Regions from separate parts of the Homo sapiens genome. Here region 2 is linked to region 1. The links are contacts of gene promoters, found by promoter capture Hi-C in human tissues and cell types (Jung and others, 2019). All regions are on one chromosome and are shown on one strand. The core of a region is centred on a gene start or on the middle of the fragment in contact, and the rest is flanking DNA. Distances in the headings are between cores, read along the strand shown. Region 1 holds the start of GPR52 (G protein-coupled receptor 52). Region 2 overlaps RABGAP1L (RAB GTPase activating protein 1 like).

The links. Contacts are between HindIII fragments. The study calls those that stand out against the background at their distance.
Region 2: a fragment that was not itself captured here is called in contact with the fragment with the promoter of GPR52 in region 1 in 2 of the 25 tissues and cell types used here (H1 embryonic stem cells and adrenal gland).

What each region holds. Positions count from the first base shown.
Region 1 is chr1:174,445,136-174,451,537 of GRCh38, reverse strand. GPR52 (G protein-coupled receptor 52) reads right to left here and starts at 3,574. Exons shown (of 1, transcript NM_005684.5): 1 at 1,993-3,574. The coding sequence starts at 3,426. The coding sequence ends at 2,341. All of the region lies in intron 13 of RABGAP1L (RAB GTPase activating protein 1 like), which reads right to left. The HindIII fragment of the contact is 5,530 bases long and covers 324-5,853 here.
Region 2 is chr1:174,707,790-174,714,191 of GRCh38, reverse strand. The region is part of intron 17 of RABGAP1L (RAB GTPase activating protein 1 like); the gene reads right to left. Among named protein-coding and RNA genes, the nearest start is that of RABGAP1L-AS1, 240 kb to the left of the region's middle. RefSeq lists an enhancer at 1,687-1,796. The HindIII fragment of the contact is 4,063 bases long and covers 1,471-5,533 here.

The DNA.
Region 1 (6,402 bases), core at 2,325-4,824:
ATCATTTTTCTTTCGTTTCCTTATCTCTGGAGTGGAAATAATAACTATTATCTCAAAAGGCTGTAGTGAGGATTTAAGGTATAACACATGTAAAAGTGAACAGTGAGCCTGGCATATAATTGTTATTAATTACTATGGGGAAAAGCCAGAAGGGGAAAATGCAGTAAGCATGGCCTCAGGCTTTCTGTACACAGAATCCACTGGGTCCTTTCTAACTATATTTATACCTTAAAGAAATAAAAATACGATTCCCAAATAATATGTATAATTTAGAAGTCTTATATGTGATATCTGAAATGTTAGCAGTACACTTCCTTGAACTTTGTTTTCCTTGAACTGGTCTGAATTTAAAAGGCACATTTAAACCAAGATGCCACTGGCAAACAGGGGACAAGAATAAATATAAACCCAAGCTACAGAAGTATAAAACAATCAGATTTTGATTCCCAAAAAAGTAAACTCTTGTCCTAAGTGTTTTATTAAACTGAGGCAAAGTCTCATTTTGATATATAGAATATTATTTTATTCTTTATTTTAAATCTTTCTTACATGTTTAAAAATATACAGGGGTTCAGAACAACCTCAATAAAATGACAACATTTCTACTAAAAGACCTTTGAAGCCAAACCACCAGGGTGCAAACATGGTTGGCTTCTAATTTGAAGAGTCATAGGCACATTTTATTAAATGCATTTCATAAAACAAAGAAATCAAAAATGCTGAGAAGAAAAATACTCAGTAGTTTGATATAAATTTTAAAATATCTTTCAGGCAAGAAACTTATGGTAAAAAAGTAATACTTAGATGTTTTACTGCTCATACTTGCTTCGCTAATTCCCCAAATGCTACTTTGCTACATCTAAACCCCTGACAATTTATCACACAACCCCATGTAGCAGGCAAAAAAATAAGTTAATCTCTGCATTTGAAAACAGATCATTACAAAAGAAAATACTGTCAGCTCTTACCTGTATTTGATAATTAAGTATATTATATTCTCAGCGGCACTAAAAATGCAGCTTTGTCTAATATAAATATCTAAATAACAATTACACAAAAGTATTTTTCTCTTAAAATAGGTTTTTGTATATACTTTTTCCAATGTTGACAACTTAAACAACATTGATCTATATATTTTGCTAAGAAAACGTTAGGCACAGATAACATAATTTACATTTTCTTTGCTGTGAAAAACATAGTATGTGCAAACGCATATCACACAAATGACTGACTAGTGGACACAACAGTAAGCTATCGTAGACCTAACACAAAAAAGATTCATGTTTTATTTTATTTATTTATTTTTAAAAAGGGCATTCTAAGTACCCTTAAGAGTAATACCTCACTGCTGGGTGAGTATCCTGCATCTGCATTACAATTACTAGTGGGTTTTCTTAAAGAAAAACAAAGCTTTACTATAGCAAAAAAAAGACATCACTTTTAAGCACATGAACTAATTTAAAAGGAACCAGATAAAAATGTTTCCAAAAGCCATTAAAAATATTTAATAAGCTACCAGATTGCTTTGCTGGAAGAAATACATTATTTAACATCATGGATGCTCTATACAGTAGATTCTTTCAATAGCTAAGACACTTCTAAAGTAAGGTACCAATGGATGCAGATCAAGAAAAAGAGAGAAAAAAAACAGGAGACTGTTAGGAAACCAGGGAAAAGCAAATGTCATTTTACCCAGAAGAAACAAAAATACTGTTTCTATTTGTTTATAGCAGAAAAACTGTGCTGCAGAGAACATTATAAAAACACAAGCAAAGGGGTTGTTTGGCAAATAATAAAATGCAATGCTTACTGTGCATCCTCCATGAAGAGATCACTTATGGATTATAGATTAGTGTGATTAAAGGTACACTTTGATGCAAAAGATTATACTTTACCACATATATAATATGTAGCACTTTTCTACAAAGGGCAGTTTATGTAAGTAATAACTTCCACAAAGAGTGAGAGAAACATAGACAAAATGAGAAAGACAGAGGCAGGGTACAGTCAGACAGAAAGACAGAAATGCTGAGCCAAGGGGCTTGCTCATGTCCTGCAGAAGATTTGAGATATTCTTTTTCATCTCAGTGCTTAATTTTTCCTATTACTGCACACTAATACTCACATGCTATAATTATTTCATGAGCTAACCCTCTATACATCCTTCCCTTTAGTTTCTTCCATGAAAAAGAAAAAAAAAGAGAGAAACCTTTAGTCTCATACTTCATTTTACAGTCAACTATTCAAGTAAATATTTCTCTGATGGCAAATTTCCAGATGAATCTAGAATATGATCCAAAACCACTGTCAGATTACATTTGATTTACTATGTAGCTCTCTTCAAATGGAGCAAGAATTAGCCCGTTTCCTAGGTTTGGGTTCTTGTGCTTCCTGATCCTTCACACACATACAGGATGTGCACATTGTCTCAGACAGTCTTCGGAGGCCTAGCCGGAAAACGCTGTTGGAGAGGCTGTATATTACACAGTTACAAAAACTATTACTTATTGCAAGCCAGGTTGTTAAGAAGGACAGAGTTGGATTGTCCAAGACCCGGGAGCTTTCTAGAAGAAAGTAAATTATATAGGGGAGCCACAGCATATAAAATACACTGGTTATCCTAAACAAAACCATGGCGTAGCGACGGTCAGGGCTGTGTCCAGTCTCTCTGGAAGAATCTACCTCATGACTAGGGAATCGGGCTCTTCGGTCATTTATCTCTTTGGTGTGCTGACGGCAAATTTTGAAAATGTGGAAGTAAGTGAAGCAGACAACAAAGGCAGCAGGAGCATAAAGTAAACAAACAATAAAGCCAGTAAAATAGGCACTGGTGAGCCAAGACGTGGCACACCATTCAAAAATGTCACCATGGTAACCAGGTTTCCCCCAGCCAAAAAAGGAAGGCAAGAAAATTAGGCAGGAGTAGATCCAGATCAAAATAATGCAAATTCTCAAGCGACAAGGGGTGACCAGTTGATTGTAGGAAAGAGGCTTGGTTATTGCAAGATAACGATCCACACTGATGCAAGCAAGACATGCCATAGAAACACTTTTTAGAACTGAGATGATATATCCAAAAACCTGGCAAGTCAATGACTCGTGGACACCTGTGGAGTAGTGGAGAAGTGACAGAGTAGGAACCAAGCAGCTAACTCCAACGAAAAGATCAGCATATGCCATCGTCTGAATGAAATAGCTGGTAGTATAATGATGTAACAGTGGAGCACAATGAAAGACAAAGATAACTGTTAGATTCCCAGCAATGATCAGAAATGTCAGCAACACAATAACCACTGTCTCGAAGATGCAGACATCCACCACACTGTAGTGGCCAAATCCAAGTGGGCAGGAGTGACGCTCGGACACATTCACAATGCCACTGCTCATGTTCAGGATCCTCCATTCAGTCCACCTGGATTCATTCATGGCTTGGAAATTTAAAGACACCTGCAGACTTGGCTACAGCAAGCAGATGCCCTGCCCAGCATCTGTTAAACACCGCACATGAGTGTTTCAGAACCTGCTTCAGTAGACAGTGTCAGTGCTTCTGTCACAGCTGAGAGTCCCAGAGAGTGCTCAAGTCTCTTCACCAGCCTCAGTTCAGCAGTGACACACCTCAGCTTTCGGGCGGGGGGGTGGGGGGGGGGCGGTAAGGGGTGGAGAGAAGGGGATAAGCTAGAAAGGAGGTGAAAAGAGGTCACTAATTAGTTTCCTCTGGTGCCCTCAAAGAACTTTTTGCAGACATAAGGCACTTCTAGAGAAAATAGACTTCTTATTATCTTGCACTATGAAAAATTAAATCTGTAAAAAGAAAAAAAATGAATTGCCAAAGGAAGAAAAGCTTCTGTGGGCTGTTCTCCTAAGAGAGGCAGTTTCTTAGGGAGCAACTGGAAAGAATGAGAAAAGAAAAACTCTGAAACTGTCTCAGGCTTCCTGCTTTATCTATGATGAAAAATGCATTCATATTTTAGATTTTAAATAATTTAAGATCTCAAATTTGGTTGAAAAGCTAAGAAAAAGTTCATTGTGGCAAAGAGTGTCTTTGGGCTTAGTTCAGGGATTGATGTTGGGGGGTCAAATTTATAACCTATTTCTCATTTTTCTAAAATCTAAGAAAAACAACTCTATCAAAGTTAATTTGAAAAGATTCATCTCTACATGGGCAGAATAGAGGTAACAAACAGACTCCAGATTGCCCTATAACTCTCATGAGAAAAAAGTATTTTCCAATAGAAAAGAGAATATACAATGAATTAATGAATTAACACCTGGCAAAATGTAATAAACTTCTGAAGTTTTAATTCTGCATGCATTTTTAAAGCATTTAGATGAAAGCAGTTTTAATCCATTACAGTTACTGGTGGTACTAACAGCAACGTAACTTATACCTCTTCCTTTTCAAAATGAATTATTTTTGCTATTAATTTGGCATCTATAACTTAAAATAACATTTGTTATTTCATATACCACCTTCCTTATAATGGAGCATGATAATAAAATATGTAGCTCACAGTTATTTCTCACCTTTGCAACTGTATACCCATATCTCACATATATATGTAAATATAAAGTTAGACAATAAAACTTTCCAATATACTCCGAGCTTATTTGACCAGAAATGCTGCCATTATTTATTACTTAGGTATTTCTAATAGGCTTCATGTTCTATGTTGCTATACCTTTTCTATTTTCAGTAGATGATTTAACACATTAAATCATTACTTCAACTATATCTTCTGAAAGTGGAAAATTACCTTGTTTATTACATTTGCAGTTATGTAGCAGCCATATGTTAAAAAATGCCTCTTCTATTTTTCTGTACTCTATTTTGAGCAAGTGCTCAATTAACACAGGGGCCATTAGGTAGGTTGCAAGATAGTCTTATTTTAAAATACCTCTAAAGTATCAAGATGAACTTTAAATCCTAGAGTTTGAAACATTGCAAGGCTGCCAGGATAGAATCCATCCAAAATGCTTCCAAGGTCATTTTGATATCAGGTTAACATTTGCCAAAGTATTTTTTAAAAGTGAAGTCATTTCAGAGAGTCTCCTGTCATTCTTTGTTATCCTATCTTTTGAAGAAATAACATGCATTAGAAATAACATTTCCTCCAGGAACAATGCAGCAGCTTAACAGAAAGCATTCTTCTGAAAGTTATTTTCTGGTGCACCACCAAGTCATTCAGGCAAGTCCTTCTTCTTTTATAATAGCCATAGGATATTTCTTCTTCTACATTCCTAGTTTCACTTATCACAAAACAGTTCTCTTGTTACAGGAATAAGGTAATGCTTCTCACCTACATTCACTCTTATCAGCTGCTAGGCTGGGCTGCTTGATTCAGAAGTCCGATTTACTGTGATGCAGCTACAAGGATGCTGTCAGTATATTCTTCACAATCTCTCAGCATCAATGACTCCACCTGAGCCCAAGCCCTACTCCTCCTCCTCATCCTGGGCTGATGCAGAAAAACTCACCATCAGAAAGGTGACTCGGCCCTCCTGCCCCAATCAACAGCACAGCCAATGGCTACTGCAGCTGAAACTGTCACTAGGTAACAGTTGCCAGGCACATGCAGGCTTATAGACTTACTCGGCAAGCTCCGATCAAGACTGACAAAAGAAGACAATGGAACTGACCGATCTTTATAATATATTAAGGCATTTATGAACTTCTCAAGGTATTCTCCTTATAGCATTTGTAAAGATTATTTCGTATGGACAAGACAGAAAAAATAAACTGCCATACTCCTGTAAACCCTGTAAAGAAACTACCACAAGGTACTATGACACTAAAAAGTCAGCAGTAATCTAATGCTCATTGGCAGAAAAAACTTATTAATTATTAAAAATTTGCCAAGTCTTCATGAACTAAAGTGATATGACTACTAACTTCTCTCTAAAATATATAGTTACATTTTAATTAACAGAACTTAGAAATCATTTACTAATCTCTCCAATCCCCATCACCCCCACAAAAAATTGCTGAGTTTGATGTATTTAACTGTACAAACAAAGCAATAGAACTAACACTACTGTACCAAAATCTATTCAGAGCAATACTGAAGGTCAAATATGATCTCAAAAGAGCATAGAAATTAGAATAAATAAAAACATTGCTTATCCACTTTTTATCCTAATATGAAAAAAAAGGTCAAATGGTCAAAGAAATTTGTTCTAAGTGCTTGAGCTACACATACCTAAATTAGAACAATGCAAATTAATTTAATCAAATATTTGATGGACATTAAAACATTTCTGATTATTTTGACTTACTACAGACAAACATTCACTATTTTAAACTTCTTAGGGGATCAGCATTTTTCTTAAAAGTGACTTAGAACTAATTTACAAATTATGTCAGAATTAAAATACACCAGGAAAATTAAGATAAAAATGGAAGAT
Region 2 (6,402 bases), core at 2,253-4,752, 260 kb before region 1:
ATGTTTTTCTTTTTTTTTTTAAATTAACATCCCTGCTGTCCTAAAAAATATACAAATGTTTTCAATGTTCCAGAAACTAAAAGAAGACCAGTGTTCCACTACAAAGAGCAGGAAAAAGGCTGACCTTTGGATACCACTGGGGAGGAAGGAAGGGAATAACTGCAGGCCAAATGAAACAATGTGAGTTTTATTTAGTGGGAAACCACAGAAGGGTTTTCAGTAGAGGAGTGTAATCGGTTATGTGTTTTACAAAATCCTCTCTGGATGCTATGGAGAATAATGGGAAAAAAATGACAGGAAGACAAGTGGGAAGAACAGATAGGAAGTTACTGAATAGGAGATAATGCTGACTTGGAGAAAGAATAAAGGTTCAAGACCTATTTTGGAGGTAGACTTGATAAACTAGTGAGTGTGTGTTAGTCTGGTTCATGCTTTGCTATAAAGGAACACCTGAAGCTGGGTAATTTATAAACAAAAGAGGTTTTATTTTGGCTTACAGTTCTTCAGGCTGTACACAAAGCATAGTGCCAGCATCTGCTGCTGGTGAGGGCCTCAGGAAGCTTACTATCACAGTGGAAGGACAAGGGCGAGCCAGCACATCATACAGTGAGAGAGTAAACGAGAGCAGGGTTTGAGGGAAAGGTGCCACAGTCTTCTAAACAACCATATCTCCCATGAACTCAGAATAAGAACTCACTCATTGCCAAGGGGATGGTGCTAAACCATTCATGAAAGATCTGCCCCCATCATCCAATACCTCCCACAAGGCCTCACCTCCAGCAATGGAGATTACACTTCAACATGAGATCTGGAAGGGACAAATATCAAAACCATATCAGACTGCAATAATATTTTTCAAATATTCTCAATTATAAATTGTCCAGAGATACATACATATGTAGTAAAAAAAACAGACATGCATGGGAATGATTAACACTAAATTCTTCATAATGGTTCTCCTGAGGAAGACCAAAGAAGATGTAGTCAGGAAGAGGTATATATAAAGCTTCTAATCTCATTGACATTGTTTTACTTCTAGAAGTGAGATACATAGCACTTCAATGTATGTCTTAATGATATAGTATGGGGGCAAGGAAGTGCTGGGAGCAGAAGGGTGGGGCTCCTGGTGAGGGCTCCACCTCTGGGCCTGTGCCATTGGACCTAAATCAGGAGAGGCATTTCTGTTTTCGTCCCCAAATATTGCATTTCCCAAGACCACCCTGGTCCGCCATGCCCCCATCTTGTGTCTATAAAATCCCCAAGACCCTGGGGGCACAGACACAAGCGGCTGGACGTTGGGAGGAACACACACCAGCAGAAGAGCACACCAGCAAGCACTGGCAGACACCAGCAGGCCACTGACTGATGGAATGACGCAAAGTTTGGCTGGGGAGGTTGGAGGAGTAAGTAAGTAAGTCAATAAATAAACACCAACCACGGGGTGCTAAGAGAGAAAGGAAAAGGATATATCCATTTAAGAACGGGTGATCAGGGAAAACTTCTTAGAGAAAGTAGCTACTGCTGGGCAGCCTGACTGCAGGGGAAAACCACTGTGTCCGGAATTGGTGGGTTCTTGGTCTCGCTGACTTCAAGAATGAAGCCGCAGACTCTCACAGTGAGTGTTACAGTTCTTAAAGATGGTGTGTCCACAGTTTGCTCCTTCAGATGTTCAGATGTGTCTGGAGTTTCTTCCTTATGGTGGGTTCGTGGTCTCGCTGGCTTCAGAAGTGAAGCTGCAGACCTTCGCGGTGAGTGTTACAGTTCTTAAAGGTGGCGCGTCTGGAGTTGTTCGTCCCTCCCAGTGGGTTCGTGGTCTCACTAGCTTCAGGAGTGAAGCTGCAGACCTTCGCAGTGAGTCTTACAGCTCATAAAGGCAGTGCGGACCCAAAGACTGAGCAGCAACAAAATTTACTGCAAAGAGCAAAAGAACAAAGCTTCCACAGTCCGGAAGGTGACTGCTCGGGCAGCCTGCTTTTATTCTCTTATCTGGCCCCACCCACATCCTGCTGATTGGTCTGTTTTACAGAGAGCTGATTGGTCCGTTTTACAGACAGCTGATTGGTCCATTTTACAGAGAGCCGATTGGTCCGTTTTGACAGGGTGCTGACTGGCGTGTTTACAAACCTTGAGCTAGACACAAAGTGCTGACTGGTGCATATACAATCCTTTAGCTAGACACAAAAGTTCTCCAAGTCCCCACTAGATTATCTAGACACAGAGCACTGATTGGTGTGTTTACAAACCTTGAGCTAGACACAGTGCTGACTGGTGCATTTACAATCCTCTAGCTAAACATAAAAGTTCTCCAAGTTCCCACCCGACTCAGAAGCTCAGCTGGCTTCGCCTAGTGGATCCTGTGCCAGGGCCATGGGTGGAGGTACCCACCAGTCCCATGCCATGTGCCCACACTCCTCAGCCCTTGGGCGGTTGGTGTGACCAGGCCCCCGGAGTAGGGGGCAGTGCCAGTCAGGGAGGCTCGGGCGTGCGGGAGCCCGTGGAGGGCAGGAGTGCCAGGGGGCACTCGGGCACGGCAGGCTGCAGGTCCCGAACCCTGCCCTATGGGGAGGCAGCTAAGGCCTGGCGAGAATTCGAGCGTGGTGCGGGTGGGCCAGCAGTGCTGGGGGACTGGTGCACCCTCCACAGCTGCTGGCCCGGGTGCGAAGCACCTCACTGCCCAGGGCCAGCAGCGCAGGCCAGCCGCTCCGAGTGCGGGGTCCGCCAAGCCCGCGCCCACCTGGAACTCGTTCTGGCCCGCAAGCACTGTGCGCAGCCTCGGTTCCCACCCACGCCTCTCCCTCTGAGAGGTGACAGCGTGCCGGCAGCCCTCACTCACTCTCAGTGCCTCCTCTGCCTGGGCTCCCACTTTGGCGGCACTTGAGGAGCCCTTCAGCCCACCGCTGCACTGTGGGAGCCCCTTCCTGGGCTGGCCAAGGCTGGAGCTGGCTCCCTCAGCTTGCAGGGAGGTGTGGAGGGAGAGGCGCAGGTGGGAACCGGGGCTGTACATGGCACTTGCGGGCCAGCGTGAGTTCCGGGTGGGCGTGGGCTCGGCAGGCCCCGCACTCACAGCGGCCAGCTGGCCCTGCCGGCCCCAGACAGTGAGGGGCTTAGCACTGCTAAGCTGTGTTTGGGCCAGCAGCTGCTGTGCTCGACTTCTCGCCGGGCTTTAGCTGCCTCCCTGTGGGGCAGGGCTTGGGACCTGCAGCCCGCCATGCCTGAGCCTCCCCGCCACCGTGGGCTCCTGCGCAGCCTGAGCCTCCCCGATGAGCACCGCCCCCTGCTCCACAGCACACCAATGGGTCTTGACTCTTTATCCAATTTGCCAGTCTGTCTTTTAATTGGGGTATTTAGCCTATTTACATTTAAGGTTAATTTTGTTATGTGTGAATTTGATACTGTCATATGATGCTAGCTGGTTATTTTGTCCATTAGTTGATGCAGTATCTTCATAGTGTTGATGGTCTTTACAATTTGTTTTGTTTTTGCAGTGGCTGGTACTGGTCTTTCCATATTTAGTGCTTCCTTCAAGAGCTCTTGTAAGGCAGGCCTGGTGGTGACAAAATCCCTCAGCATTTGCTTGTCTGTAAAGGATTTTATTTCTCCTTCACTTATGAAGCTTAGTTTGGCTGGATATGAAATTCTGGTTGAAAATTATTTTCTTTAAGAATGTTAAAAATTGGCCCCCACTCTCTTCTAGCTTGCAGGGTTTCTGCAGAGAGATCCACTGTTAGTCTGATGGGCTTCCCTTTGTGAGTAACCCGACCTTTCTCTCTGGCTTCCCTTAACATTTTTTCCTTCATTTCAACATTGGTGAATCTGATGATTATCTGTCTTGTGGTTGTTCTTTGTGGGGTTCCACAAAGGAATAGTATCTCTGTGGTGTTCTCTGTATTTCCTGAATTTGAATATTGGCCTGTCTTGCTAGGTTGGAGAAGTTCTCCTGGATAATATCCTGAAGTGTGTTTTCCAACTTGGTTCCATTCTCCCCATCACTTTCAGGTACACCAGTCAAACGTAGGTTTGGTCTTTTCCCAGTCCCATATTTCTTGGAGGCTTTGTTTCTTCCTTTTCATTCTTTGTTCTCTAATCTTGTCTTCCTGTTTTATTTCATTAAGTTGATCTTCAATCGCTGATATCCTTTCTTCCACTTGATCAATTTGGCTATTGATACTTGTGTATGCTTCACGAAGTTCTCGTGCTGTGTTTTTCAGCTCCATCAGGTCATTTATGTTCTTCTCTAAACTAGTTATTCTAGTTAGCAGTTTCTGTAACCTTTTATCAAGGTTTTTGGCTCCCTTGCACTGTGTCTTTAGCTCAGAGGAGTTTGTTATTACCAATCTTCTGAAGCCTACTTATGTCAATTCGACAAACTCATTCTCCATCCAGTTCTATTCTCTTGCTGGCAAGGAGCTGTGATCCTTTGGAGAAGAGGCATTCTGGTTTTTGGAATTTTCAGCCTTTTTGCGCTGGCTTTTCCTCATCTTCATGGATTTATCTATCTTTGGTCTTTGATGTTGGTGACCTTCAGATGGGATTTTTGCATGGGTGTCCTTTTTGTTGATGTTGATACTATTGCTTTCTGTTTGCTAGTTTTCCTTCTAATAGTCAGGGCCCTTTTTGCAGGTCTGCTGGAGTTTGCTGGAGGTCCACTGCAGAACCTGTTTGCCTGGGTATATCACCAGCAGAGGCTTCAAAACAGCAAAGATCGCTGTCTGTTCCTTCCTCTGGAAGCTTCATCAGAGAGGGGCACCTGCCAGATGCCAGCCAGAGCTCTTCTGTATGAGTTATCTGTCAACCCCTCTTCAGAGGTGTCTCCCAGTCAGGTGGCATAGGTATCAGGGATCCACTTGAGGAGGCTGTCTGTCCCTTAGCAGAGCTCGAGCACTGTACTGGGAGATCCACTGTTCTCTTCAGAGCTGGCAGGCTGGAATGTTTAAGTCTGCTGAAGCTGCGCCCACAGCCACCCCTTCCCCCAGGTGCTCTGTCCCAGGGAGATGGGAGTTTTATCTATAAGCCTCTGACTGGGGCTGCTGCCTTTCTTTCAGAGATGCCCTGCCCAGAGAGCATGAATCTAGAGAGGTGCTATGGCTACAGCAGCTTTGCTGCACTGCGGTGGGTTCCACAACTAGTTCGAATTTCCTGGAGGCTTTGTTTACACTGTGAGGGGAAAACTGCGTACTCAAGCCTCAGTAATGGCAGCACCTCTCCCCACACCAAGCTCAAGCATCCCAGCTTGACTTCAGAATGCTGTGCTGGCAGTGAGAATTTCAAGCCAGTGAATCTTAGCTTGTTGGATGCCATGGGGGTAGGTTCTGCTGAGACAGACCACTCAACTCCCTGGCTTCAGCCCCCTTTCCAGGGGAGTGAACAGTTCTGTCTCACTGGCATTCCAGGCACCACTGGGGTAAAAACAAAACAAAACAAAACAAAACAAACAAACAAAAACTCCTGCAGCTAGCTTGGTGTCTGCCCAAACGACTGCCCAGTTTTATGCTTGAAACTCAGGGCCCTGGTGGTGCAGGCACCCGAGGGAATCTCCTGGTCTGTAGGTTGCGAAGACCATGGGAAAAGTGTAGTATCTGGGCTGGATAGCACTGTCCCTCATGGCAGAGTACTTTACAGCTTCCCTCAGCTAGGGGAGGGAGTTCCTTGACCCCTTGTGCTTCCCAGGTGAGGTGATGCCCCACCCTGCTTCTGTTAATCCTTCATGGGCTGCACCCACTGTCTAACCAGTCCCAGTGAGATGAACCGGGTACCTCAGTTGAAAATGCAGAAATCACCCACCCTCTGCATTGGTCTCATTGGGAGCTGCAGACCAGAGCTCTTCCTATTTGGCCATCTTGCCAGCTCCCCTATGTCAGAGTCTTAATCTTGCTTGTATTAAGCTCATTCTGATGAGTTTTTTGTGGGGGAGAATGGGGATAAGGAGGGAGAATATTGTGTAATAAATAATGAATCTACTCTTCAGATAACAACTTCTGAAAACTGCTTTGAGAGAATTATACCTGGTGATATTTAATCAAATAATGTAGTACTGTCATTTTTTCAACATCCTGAGAAGAGAAGAGAAGCAGAAGATACATTCTAATTTGAAGGGTCAACGATTTCCTTAAATTTCATGAAAATACCAAGTTACTATATAAAGCTGAACATATTTGGTACTCTAAAAATTGAACTATCTGGGAAGAGTCAACTTCAAACACCGGCTGTCAGTTATTCTGTGAAGACTAAAAGAAATACCAGTATTTTCCTTATGTCTTCTGAAAGAATGTGGAGGAGAAGCAAAAAACACTTTTAGAGCAGTATTTGAATCACTACTGAAAAAGGAAATAGAATTAAGCTTCCATTAAGGTCACTCACTTAAAATTTTGCTTTTACCAAAGAAGCATCTCAACCACTGGGTGA